2 separate regions of the Homo sapiens genome follow, and region 1 is linked to region 2. The links are contacts of gene promoters, found by promoter capture Hi-C in blood cells and fetal thymus (Javierre and others, 2016). All regions are on one chromosome and are shown on one strand. The core of a region is centred on a gene start or on the middle of the fragment in contact, and the rest is flanking DNA. Distances in the headings are between cores, read along the strand shown.

The links. Contacts are between HindIII fragments. The CHiCAGO score rates a contact against its expected background, and 5 or more counts as called.
Region 1: a fragment that was not itself captured here is called in contact with the fragment with the promoter of TCF7L1 in region 2 in 1 of 17 cell types (endothelial precursors); the score reaches 5.8 in endothelial precursors.

What each region holds. Positions count from the first base shown.
Region 1 is chr2:85,189,872-85,195,495 of GRCh38, forward strand. The region is part of intron 3 of TCF7L1 (transcription factor 7 like 1); the gene reads left to right. Among named protein-coding and RNA genes, the nearest start is that of TCF7L1-IT1, 6.3 kb to the left of the region's middle. RefSeq lists an enhancer at 1-421. The HindIII fragment of the contact is 734 bases long and covers 1,317-2,050 here.
Region 2 is chr2:85,129,570-85,135,079 of GRCh38, forward strand. TCF7L1 (transcription factor 7 like 1) reads left to right here and starts at 3,823. Exons shown (of 12, transcript NM_031283.3): 1 at 3,823-4,364; 2 at 4,447-4,510; 3 at 4,754-4,881. The coding sequence starts at 4,116. RefSeq lists a silencer at 3,423-3,492 and enhancers at 3,858-4,432, 5,008-5,510. The HindIII fragment of the contact is 24,991 bases long and covers 1-5,510 here.

The DNA.
Region 1 (5,624 bases), core at 434-2,933, 58 kb after region 2:
AAGCCCAGGGCCCGGGAGTGAGCCCAGAGGAATGACACTGGACAGCCACTTGGGGTTCATTCATTCTGTGCACTTGGAGCCTCTGGAAGGGAGGGGTGGGAATACCTTGCAGTGAGCTGGGAATGAGCAAGTTCAGGGCTGCTAGGGCTTATCTTTGGTCCTGACCTTCAGCTTTTATCTTTGTGTACACCTCTTGGAGCCCCTGCTTAAGGGTAGAGACCTTGTCTTCTTTATCTTTATAGTCCCACATACCTGAGGCACTCAGTAAGTCCTTGTTGAAGGAGTGAACTACATTGCTGCTCCTTTCATATAGCCCCAGGCACACTGATGTACTTTACTGTCCTTTGAAGAGGCCACAGAATATTTTGCCTCTTGGGGTGTGATCACCTTACTGAAAAGACTGGGCTCACCTCTTAGGTCAAGGAGAGTAGACTTTGAGATCTTGGAGGGACGAAGGACATTTTCAAGGTGGGAAGTTGCCGTAGAACAGAGTGCTGATGGCCAGGGATCTGCATTTGGAATTTGAGAGGCTGAGTAAGGAGCACCATAGGCCTCTGCAGAGGCCAGTCTTGGGTGGCTGGTTTGCAGGAAAGGGCAGGACCTGGTGCTGACTTGGAACCAGTTGGTGGTAGATGTGGAGATGGGAGAATGGACTTCATGGACACTTACCATATGGCAGCCAACACCCTGGGAACCTCTGGCACCTGATGACTGACCTAGGAACATGGGGGAATGAAAAGCACAGGCCAAGATGCTAAGGAGCCTTTGTGTTTCTTAGTTTTACAAAATTGTGTTTAAGGATCACAGCAGCAGCAGTCACAGTAGTAGCCAAAGAGATAGTAGAATCTTCTATTTATTGGGAACTTACTGGACTAAGAGCTTTGTACATAATACTTCACTGACTTAAGCTGTTCTGTTGTTATATACACCCACGTATGAGTGGTAAGTGCTGCAGGCATTTTAAGGTAGGAAAGGTTATTATTCCCATTTATGGACGCAATACCTGAGGCTCAGAAATATTAAGTGGCTTCCCAAGGTGAGTGGCAGAGCTTCAGTGGAAACGGGGGCTTAGGCTCTTAGCAACTGAGGCGAGGGCTGCTGCCAGCATTAATGACTCTGGTGCAGTGAACTGAGTTATCTTTATAATTTCTCCTTCAATTTTAAGTGTTAAGAAAGAAGGAAGAAAAGGAAAAATACCTCTACTAGTCTTTAAGAGCCTTATAACTTATTTGGAGAAACGCAGCACACAATATAGAAACACTTGCCAAGCTGCCAGTGCCGAGTGGTGGTATCAGTGCTGAGGACAGATAGGGAAAAGCTTTCCTACTTGTCACATACCCTGGGGAGGTGATCACAAACCCACTGCATGGCCTTCCTCCCAAGGAAGGAGTTAGGTTGCCCCATGGCTAAGGGAGGGATGTAGAACCACTTAACATGACATTGGTTTCAAACCCTCTGGTCCCGCCAGCTTCTTCTGTTAGGCACAGGTGCTATGTGACATCTCACAGACCCTGATCTGGTGCCAGCCCAGGCCAGATCACCAAACCCTGCCTGGCCTCAGCTCCCTGCACTATGCAATGGTATAGAAGTGGGATGGCACCTCTCATAGGGTTAGTTAGTATTTGCATGCTGTGTGCTCTGTACTACTCTGTTTAGTGCATTTAGAAGTTGATTTCCTTGGCACGTGACTCATGCCTGTAATCCCAGCACTTTCGGAGGCTGAGGAGGGCAGATCACGAGGTCAGGAGTTCGAGACCAGCCTGATCAACGTGGTGAAACTCTGTCTCTACTAAAAATACAAAGATTAGGTGGGTGTGGTGGCAGGTGCCTGTAATCCCAGCTACTCGGAAGGCTGAGGCAGGAGAATCGCTTGCAGCTGGAAGGCAGAGGTTGCAGTGAGCTGAGATTTTGTCACTGCACTCCAGCCTGGGCAACAAGAGTGAAACTCCATCTCAAAAAAAAAAAAAAAAGAAGTTTATTTTATTTCCTCATTGGATGTGACCAACTTCCTACAAAGGGAAGAAACTTCATCTTCAAGTCCCTAGGATAAAGCTTTTCATAGGGAGGGGACAAAAATTTAACTCCAGGTCACCAAGAGAAGTCATTTTGCAGCATGGAACTTAGTGCACTTTTGTTTTCACTATGGTCCCAGAATCCATTTGTCCTCTGACAAGGGGACTCTGTGCTGCATAGGGCTGGGTGTTCCAGCTATGTAGCCCTGTGCCTGATGGCAGGTGCAGCCACAGTTAGCTGAGGGGCAGTGGTCTCCATTCAGAGGTCTGCTTCCTTCTACCCTATTTCACCCTAATGAAGATATGTCATCTTGCAAATGACTACATGTTTTCTATCCTCCTCATTTCTAATCCTGAATTTAAGCATTGGAAAGAGCTTGAGCAAATCAGTCAGCTACCGCCCCTCTCCCCCAAACTCAGTCTAGTCATCTGCAAAATGGAGCTAGCAGTGAAAACAGTATGTATTAAATGAGATGATACATGTGAAACATGTAGAGCTCTAATTTTATTTTTTTTTTATTTATTTTTTTGAGACAGAGTCCCGATCTGTTGCCCAGGCAGTGGTGTGATGTTGGCTCACTGCAACCTCCGCCTCCCGGATTCAAGCGATTCTCATGCGTCAGCCTCCTGGGTAGTTGAGATTACAGGCATGTATGCCCAACTGATTTTTGTATTTTTAGTAGAGATGGGGTTTTCAGCATGTTGTTCAGGCTGGTCTCGAACTCCTGGCCTCAGGTGATCCATCTGCCTCGGCCTCCCAGAGTGCTGGGATTACACGTGTGAGCCGTGGCACCTGGCCTAACTAATCTTTTTTTTTTTTTTTTTAAGTGCACTGCACTGAAGTGCAGTGGTGTGATCACAGCTCATTGCAACCTTGAACTCCTGGGCTCAAGTGATCCTCCTGCCTCAGCCTCCCGAGTAAGTGGGATACAGGCATGCACTACCATCCTTGGCTAATTTTTTTTAAATTTTTTGTAGAGAAATTTTTGTTTCTCTACCAAGTTTTTGTTGCCCAGGCTGGTCTTGAACTCATGGCCTCAAGCAATCCTCCCACCTCAGCCTCATAAAGCACCAGGATTACAGGCATAAGCCACTGTGCCCGCTCTGTCTTATCTAACTGGGTAATCACTCAATAAAATTAAGTTCTTATTTTTTCATTTGAATGAATTGTATCGATACCTGGGAGAAGCCAAAGGTTGCTTTGTTAGTTGTAACTCCGCTGACTGACCACCTTTGCTGTGCTTGATATTTATGTAGAGCACTCAGGCTAAAATGCCCATGGCTTCCCTGTCCTTTTATTCTCGTGGGTGATGGCGAGTAGAGCACAGAGGGCCAAGTGACTTGTCCAATCTGCGTAGACAGTAACAGTTCCCCATCCATGGCTCTTTCCACAGCTGAGGAGCCAAAGTCTCAGGCAGGTCTCAAAGCTGGCAAGTTTAAACTAAGTGATATTTAGTCTGGGTGGGATACTGATCATGCATTTTTCTTTCTTTTTTCTTGCTCTAAAGGGCATTATTAGGGCCGGGTGCAGTGGCTCATGCCTGTAATCTTAGCACTTTGGGAGGCCAAGGTGGCAGGATTGCTTGAACCCAGGAGTTCAAGACCAGCCTAGGCAACAAAGCGAGACCTCATGTCTATATTTAAAAATAAATAAGTAAATAAATAGAGGGCATTATCAGGACAGCTGGCAGCATTTGAATAAAGTCTGTGGATTGAGTGATAGTATTCTACCAGCGGTAGTTTTCTGTTCTTTGTTCCTTCTCCTCTACCACTGCTCCACTTGACTAGCCTTAAAAAATAAAAAGCAATTAAAATAAATAAGATGGCAATTTTATGACTAGGTAAACTGGTATTGTAAGAAAATGTCTTTTTTGGGAAATACAGAAGTATTTAGACAAAAGGGGACATCATGTGTGCATCTTACTCTAAAATGGTTTGGGGAAAAATGCATATAGAGAGAGAGATAAAGTAAGTGTAGTTAAATGTTAACATTTGGGGTATGTAGGTGAGTGGTATGTGGAAGTTCATTTTACTATTCTTGCAACTTTTGTATAAGTCTGAAATTATTTTAGTATTTAAAAGTTTAAAAAAAAAAAGGCCCTCCTGTGGCTGAGGTGGTAGGAGGGTTAGTGTGAAAAGATGGGAGAGGGGCTATGGGATGGAGAGGGGTGGGGCAGAACCCTGGAAGGTGACCCCCTGGGAGTGGATGGCTGAAGACATGTGAATGAAGAGAGGAGAAGGGGGGAATAAACTGAATAAGAAAAGTCCCCCAAACAGAGCACCTTCCCACCGAAACAGGAGGGATTACCTTCGGGAAATGATGTGGGCAGACTCTAAGGCATTGCCAAGTTGGAATTACAGAATTCAGGAGTGGTGGCTCACACCTGTAATCCCAGCACTTTGGGGAGGCCAAGGCGGGTGGATTACTTGAGGCCAGGAGTTCGAGACCAGCCTGGTCAACATGGCAAAACCCCATCTCTACTAAAAATACAAAAATTAGCCGGGTGTGGTGGCGCACGCCTGTAATCCCAGCTACTTGGGAGGCTGAGGCAGGAGAATCAGGCTGATAATGAGCCAAGAGAAGAGGAGAAACCAAGTCTGCCAGGAGAAATATGAATTTGGACCTTGGAGAATGAAAATTGTAGGAAAAGTAGGCAGGGTAGATGGGCAGGGAAACCCAAAGCATGGTCAGGGCATCTTCTGAGGATGATGGGGATCCTGCAACTAAGCCAGCCAAACTTGAGTCTAGAATTGTGTGCCCCCAGGTGCCCTTGAGCCCAGGGTAAATAGCTGGTGTGATTACAGCAACCAGCAGTGTGTGCCATATCACAGTAAACACTCCAGGAGTGGGTTCTCACAGAAGAATCAGGAGGAAACCCCTGGCATGAGATTCAGAGCAGAATCCCCCTCAAGTTCTTGGATGGTGGCAGCAGCTGCTGTGGAGTCTCTGTTGCAAGCTTTTAGTTCGCAGGCACACTGGTTCAAGTTTAATCACCACAAAAATACTGCTTTGTGTGAAAATAATACATGAGTAGTCCTTATTGCAAAAGGTTCAAAGCAAACAGAAGGAATACATCAGAGGCCTCTTTCAGCTCCACCCCCCAGTCCCACCCCCGAGGTAACAGGTGTGGACAGTTCGTCTCCCTACAGTCCTTTTTCGCAGCATTTGCCCTATGGCGTAGTGGCTGGGACTGTGGGCTTTGAAGCAAGATCATCTGGGTTCACCAACTACCTCCACTACCTACAAACCTTGTAACCTTGAGCAAGTTACCTACCCTTTTCTCTGCCTACATTTTCTCATCTGTAAAGTCAGGATAATAACAGTCTAGACCTAATAGGGTTGTCATGGAGACTGAATGAGTTGGTAGGTGAAAAGAACCAGCACCTGGCACAGTCAGTGCTCAAGAAATGTTAACGTGCATGGGACGTGGTGGCTTATGCCTGTAATTGCAACACTTTGGGAGGCTGAGGCAAGAGGATCACTGGAGCCCAAAAGGTCAAGGGTGCAGTGAGTTGTGATTGTGCCACTGCACTTCATGCTGGGTGACAGAGCGAGGAGACACTGTCTCAAAAATAAATCAATAAATAAGATCTCATTACATATGAAGACCG
Region 2 (5,510 bases), core at 2,573-5,072:
TGCGCCTGGCCCTTATGATCTTTTTCAACCACTTAAAAATGTAAAAAAAGCGGCCGGGCGACGTGGCTCACACCTGTAAAACCAGCACTTGGGCGGATCACCTGAGGTCAGGAATTCGAGACCAGCCTGGTCAACATGGAGAAACCCCGTCTCTACTAAAAATACAAAATTAGCCGGGCGTGGTGGTGCATGCCTACATTCCCAGCTACTCAGGAGGCTGAAGCAGGAAAATTGCTTGAACTCGGGAGGTGGAGGTTGCAGTGAGCCGAGATGGCACCATTGCACTCCAGTCTGGGCAACAAGAGTGAAACTCCGTCTCAAAAAAAAAAAAAAAAAAGTAAAAAAAAAAAGTCTTAGCTGAGACCATTCAAAAACAGGCAGCAAGCTGTAGTATGCTGCTCTAGATGGTTGTTTTTGGTTTGGCCTCTATGCCTGGTGCTACAAATCACCAAATTCTCTGAGGGGATGAAACAGCAGTGAATACAAACTCGCTTGAATGAATTTCCCTTCTGGTATTTTGACTCCTCACGTCCTGGCTGACTTGGTTGACAGTGATGCCTTCAACTCAGCTGGGTTTTGTTGTTTTATTTTGGTATTTTATCCAGTTTATAGTTAGTTGTTCTTGATGAAGGAGTCAATCTGACATCAATACCCCATTAGAATGGGAAGTGGAAGTCTACATGTTAATTTTAATTTGCTACTTTTGCTTACCATTATGAGCCTCCTTCTATATTGACAAATATATCTCCACAATGTCATAACATTCCATTAGATGAATGCACCATGATTTAACTTAATAATTCCCTATAGGGGACATTGAAATTGTTTCTAGATTTTTTCACTGTGATGAACACACTTCTACAGGTTTATTTTTGTACCTAGTTGTTTCCTTCAGATAAAATCCTAGAAGTACGTGGATAAGTCAAAGGGTTCACACTTTTAAAGGTATTTCACAGGTATTACCAAACTTCTCTTTAGAACTGTTACACAATGGCCCAGCATCTATGTGCTTCTTAGTATAGGGGCCAATGCTGGGTGTTACCATTCTTTTCTTCCTTTGCCAATCTGACAGATGAAAACTGGTTATCTCAATGCTGTTTCCGTTTGCATTTCTGGTTTATAGGTGTGGCAGGCTGATAATGGCTTACTCCCAAAGCTGCATCTATGACCTAATCCCTGGAAACTGTGAATGTTTAAGGAAAAGAGGTCTTTGCAGATATGAAGTTAAGGATTTTGACATGGACAGGTTATCCAGGTGGTCCTTAAATGCTATCACAAGTATCACTTTTTTTTTTTTTTTTTTTTTTTTGAGACAGAGTCTCACTCTGTCGCCAAGGCCGGAGTGCAGTGGTGCCATCTCAGCTCACTGCAACCTCCTCCCTCCAAATTCAAGCGATTCTCCTGCCTCAGCCTCCCAAGTAGCGGGGATTACAGGCGCCTGCCACCACACCTGGCCAATTTTTTGTATTTTTGGTAGAGACAGGGTTTCACCATGTTGGCCAGGCTGGTCTGGAACTCCTGACCTCGTGATCCACCTGCCTTGGTTTCCCAAAGAGCTGGGATTACAGGCGTGAGCCACTGTGCCCGGCCACAAGTATGGTTTCTTACAAGAAGGGGGCAGAGGAAAATTTGTCACAGACAAAAAAAGGAGAAGGCAATGTGATTACAGACGCAAGGGTGGGAGTGATGTGGTCACAAGCCCCCAGAAGCTGCAAGAGACAAGGGTAGATTCTTTTCGGAGCCTCCAGAGGGAGCATGGCCCCGTCAACACCTCCATTTCTACTCAGTGAAACTGACAGTGGACTTCTGTCTTCCACAACTATGAGAGGATAAACTTCTGTTGTTTTAAGCCACCAAGTTTTCGTGATTTGTGACAGTAGCAGCAGAAAACTAGTACAATAGGTTTTTCATATATTTATGGACCATAAACATGAAAAATCGTCTGACTTTTAAATCTTATAAAAATAAAATAACACACAATAATACAAAGAGTATGATTCTATGTATGTACATCAGAATATCTGTAAATACGTTTACATATGTTCATAACTGCCTAGGAAAGTGTCTGGAAGGATATATACCAAACTAGTGACAGTGGTTAACCAGAGGCAGTTAACTGAAAGTGGTTAATTAGAAGGGTCCTGTGTCCTGAGGGGGAAAGAGGAACTTTTACTTGTTACTCGATACTGCTCAAGATACATCTGTTATTTGAAAACGCTTTATGAGACTGTACTCATGTATTGTGTAAAAAATTAGAAAAGGCATATCTGCTTGTTATAAAGTTCATAGAAACCAGAAAACTATCTCCTTTCACTTATCCTTTCCCAGAAATAGTCATTGATAATAATTTGCATCTTCTCAGATTTTTTTCTACGCAGAAATAAATGTGTATAATTTTTTTAAAAACAAAAATAAAATAGTGAGTGTCATATATAGTGTTTCATTTAAAGATGTTCCTCCAAAATCAATCTTGGTCCATGTGCCTGTGTGTGTGTGTGTGTGTGTGTGTGTGTGTGTGTGTGTGTGTGTGTGTATGGGTGGGGGGAGGGGCGGGGACACTGCATAGAACTGGCCAGCTGCATGGACTGTCACTGTAAAGAAAGATGAAGAATGCATGTCACCAAGCTCTCTGATGCTTTGAACCTAGCATATGTGGCTTTGCCCATATGTGCGGGCACCTCTGTAGAAACTCTTCTGCCAGTTGGGCTGAAAATAGTTTTACATAGTTCCATACTGCCTTCCAAGCTGTTTTCAAAGTTTATGCTCTAATAGTTCCCCACGGAGGATAACACAAGATATTCATTTTCCTCAAACTTTCCCGCACAGGTTGGAGAGAAACGACATCTTAATGTCATTGTAACAGGCATTTCTTTATTAAAAAAATTTTTTTTTTGGAGACAAGGTCTTGCTATGTTGCCCAGGCTGGTCTCAAACTCCTGGGCTCCAGCGATCCTCCTGCCTAGGCCTCGGGAGTAGATGGAACTCCAGGCGCGGGCCGTGGCGCTCGCACCACAGGCATTACTTAGGTATGAGGCTGGTTGAGCATTTTTCTCGTGTTCACTGGCTACTCACGCAGCTTTGTGAATGGCTTCGGAGATCACTGGACAGGCAATTTTCCCTCTCAATGAACCAAATCCAAATTCTTTTGGAACCCAAGACCGCGATTTTTCGATTTAGGACCTAGTCCCAAACAATGAAGAAAAGGTGATCTTCAAGATTTCAGCAGGGAAATCTGTATATCTGTACAAGGTTGAAAACCTGGGCCGGGGGTCGCGTTGGAACCCCACAGGAAAAAGGCGCGGAAAGCCGCCGGGCATTTTCCGGGGTTCCATAGATGTCCCCAGTGTCCTAGTCCGTGCATCAGCTCGCGCACTCGGAGGGACTCTAGGCAGGGGGAGGGCCCCGCGGCCAGTATGTGCGTCCGAGGCTTTCCCGCAGGGGGCAGTGCCGCCCGCCCGCGCGCCGATACGGTGGGAGGGGGTGGGAACCTGCGCGGAGTTCTGGAGGTTCTTTGGGAGAAAGTTAGGGGATGCGGAGGGGTGGGCGCAAGACTTCCAGGACTCCAGGGAGGCCGTGGGGAGGGCCGCCGAGGGTGCAGTGTGAGGCGCAGGAGGGGGTTGGGGGCGGTGCACGTTGCAGGGAGACGCAGCCCCTGGAAGATGCGAGTGTGAACGTGTGAGTGTGAGTGCGTGTGTATGTGTGTGTGTGCGCGCGCACCGCAGCTCTCCGGGTTCCGCGAGGCGCGCGGGTGTCAGCTTGCAGCCGGGGCTCCTCCCTCCGGCCCCCCTGCCCAGCCCGGCGGTCCCTCCTCCCTCCCTCCCCGCTCGCCCCTCCCCGGCGGGCCAGGGGCTGGGACGCCCCGGCGGAGCAGGCGGCGGCGGTGGCGAGTTGGGGAGCCCTAGGCTCGGCGCTGCCGGAGGGGCCCGAGCCGAGCCGCCTGCGCCCCGGCCGGGCAGCGCCGGGCCCGCTTCCCGCGGGGCCACGCCCTGTCAAACTTTGTTGCGGCGGCTAGCGCAGCGGGCCCGCAAGCGGGCGGGAGGGGCGCCGGGCCGGGCCGGGCAGGGCGCGGGCGGCTAGGGGCTCCGAGAGCGGCGGCCCCGGCCCGCGGCCCCACCATGCCCCAGCTCGGCGGCGGGGGCGGCGGCGGCGGCGGCGGCAGCGGGGGAGGCGGCGGCTCCAGCGCCGGGGCGGCCGGCGGAGGGGACGACCTCGGGGCGAACGACGAGCTGATCCCCTTCCAGGACGAGGGGGGCGAGGAGCAGGAGCCGAGCAGCGATAGCGCCTCGGCGCAGCGGGACCTAGACGAGGTCAAGTCGTCCCTGGTCAACGAGTCGGAGAACCAGAGCAGCAGCTCGGACTCGGAGGTAAGGAAGCACCGCGGCCACCCCCGGGGGATCCCGGCCCTGCGTCCGCTCACCCGCTCTTGCCTTTGTGTCTCCTCCGCAGGCGGAGAGGCGCCCGCAGCCCGTCCGGGACACTTTCCAGAAGCCGCGGGACTATTTCGCCGAAGGTATGTGCCCGCTGGGACAGCCCCCCACTCTCGATTCCCGCTGCGCTCCGCTGCTCAGCCCGGGCGGCCCACCGTCCCCCTTGCTTGGGTGGACGCACCCTTGCCCTCCGCCTTTATTGGCGGCAGCCCCCGTGGGGCGCGCGTGGGGGGCGCTGGGGTCCCCAGCTCCCGCCTCGAGCCCCCTGCCGCGGCGCTGTCAGTCCCGGGGGCCTGGGCCTCACCTCGCCTTGGTCTTGTTCGCAGTGAGAAGGCCTCAGGACAGCGCGTTCTTTAAAGGACCCCCGTACCCTGGGTACCCCTTCCTGATGATCCCGGACCTGAGCAGCCCGTACCTCTCCAACGGACCCCTGTCTCCCGGAGGAGCGCGCACCGTGAGTGCCCGTCGGGCGCGCCGGGGAGGGTGGGAGGCCGCGGCCCGCAGGATGCGCCCCCGGGCTTGGCCATGGAGTGGGGGATGGGGCCTTCTGCGCCGATCCCAAGCAGAACTTGTTTGCGGAGTTGAACTACTCTCTGGCGGCCGAGCGCGAGGCTGCGCTGGCCAGTGCCTGGATGAAAGTAAAGTTACTTTAACTTTTCCCCTCTTGCGGGTTGAGGTTTTGGAGTCCACCTCTGGGATCTTCCTTGGCCTCCAGAATTCTTCGCCTGCACCGAAGGAAACTTGGATTTGTGCCCGCTTTGGGGGGGTCTCGCTTTCCTTCTTGGAAATCGGTCAGCTTTCTCTGGCAGTGGGGCAAGGGGCCTAGGGAGCTGGGTTGGCGACGTTGTCCTCCGACTCCGGGTTCACTGGGCGGCTGCAGGCTGGTTCCTAAGAAACCCAGTTTTCGTGGCGGGTTATTCACAGCCCCCGTTCCCACCCCCAGCCCTCGCACCGGGGCCTCAGCTTTTCTGCGGAGCTAGCTCCGAATTTTAAACTCGCGTAGATGATTTCGAGGCGACCCAAGGCATTCTTCAAGTTGAGGAACTTGGCTTTTTCCCCCTTTTGTCGCCTGCTTTTCTCATT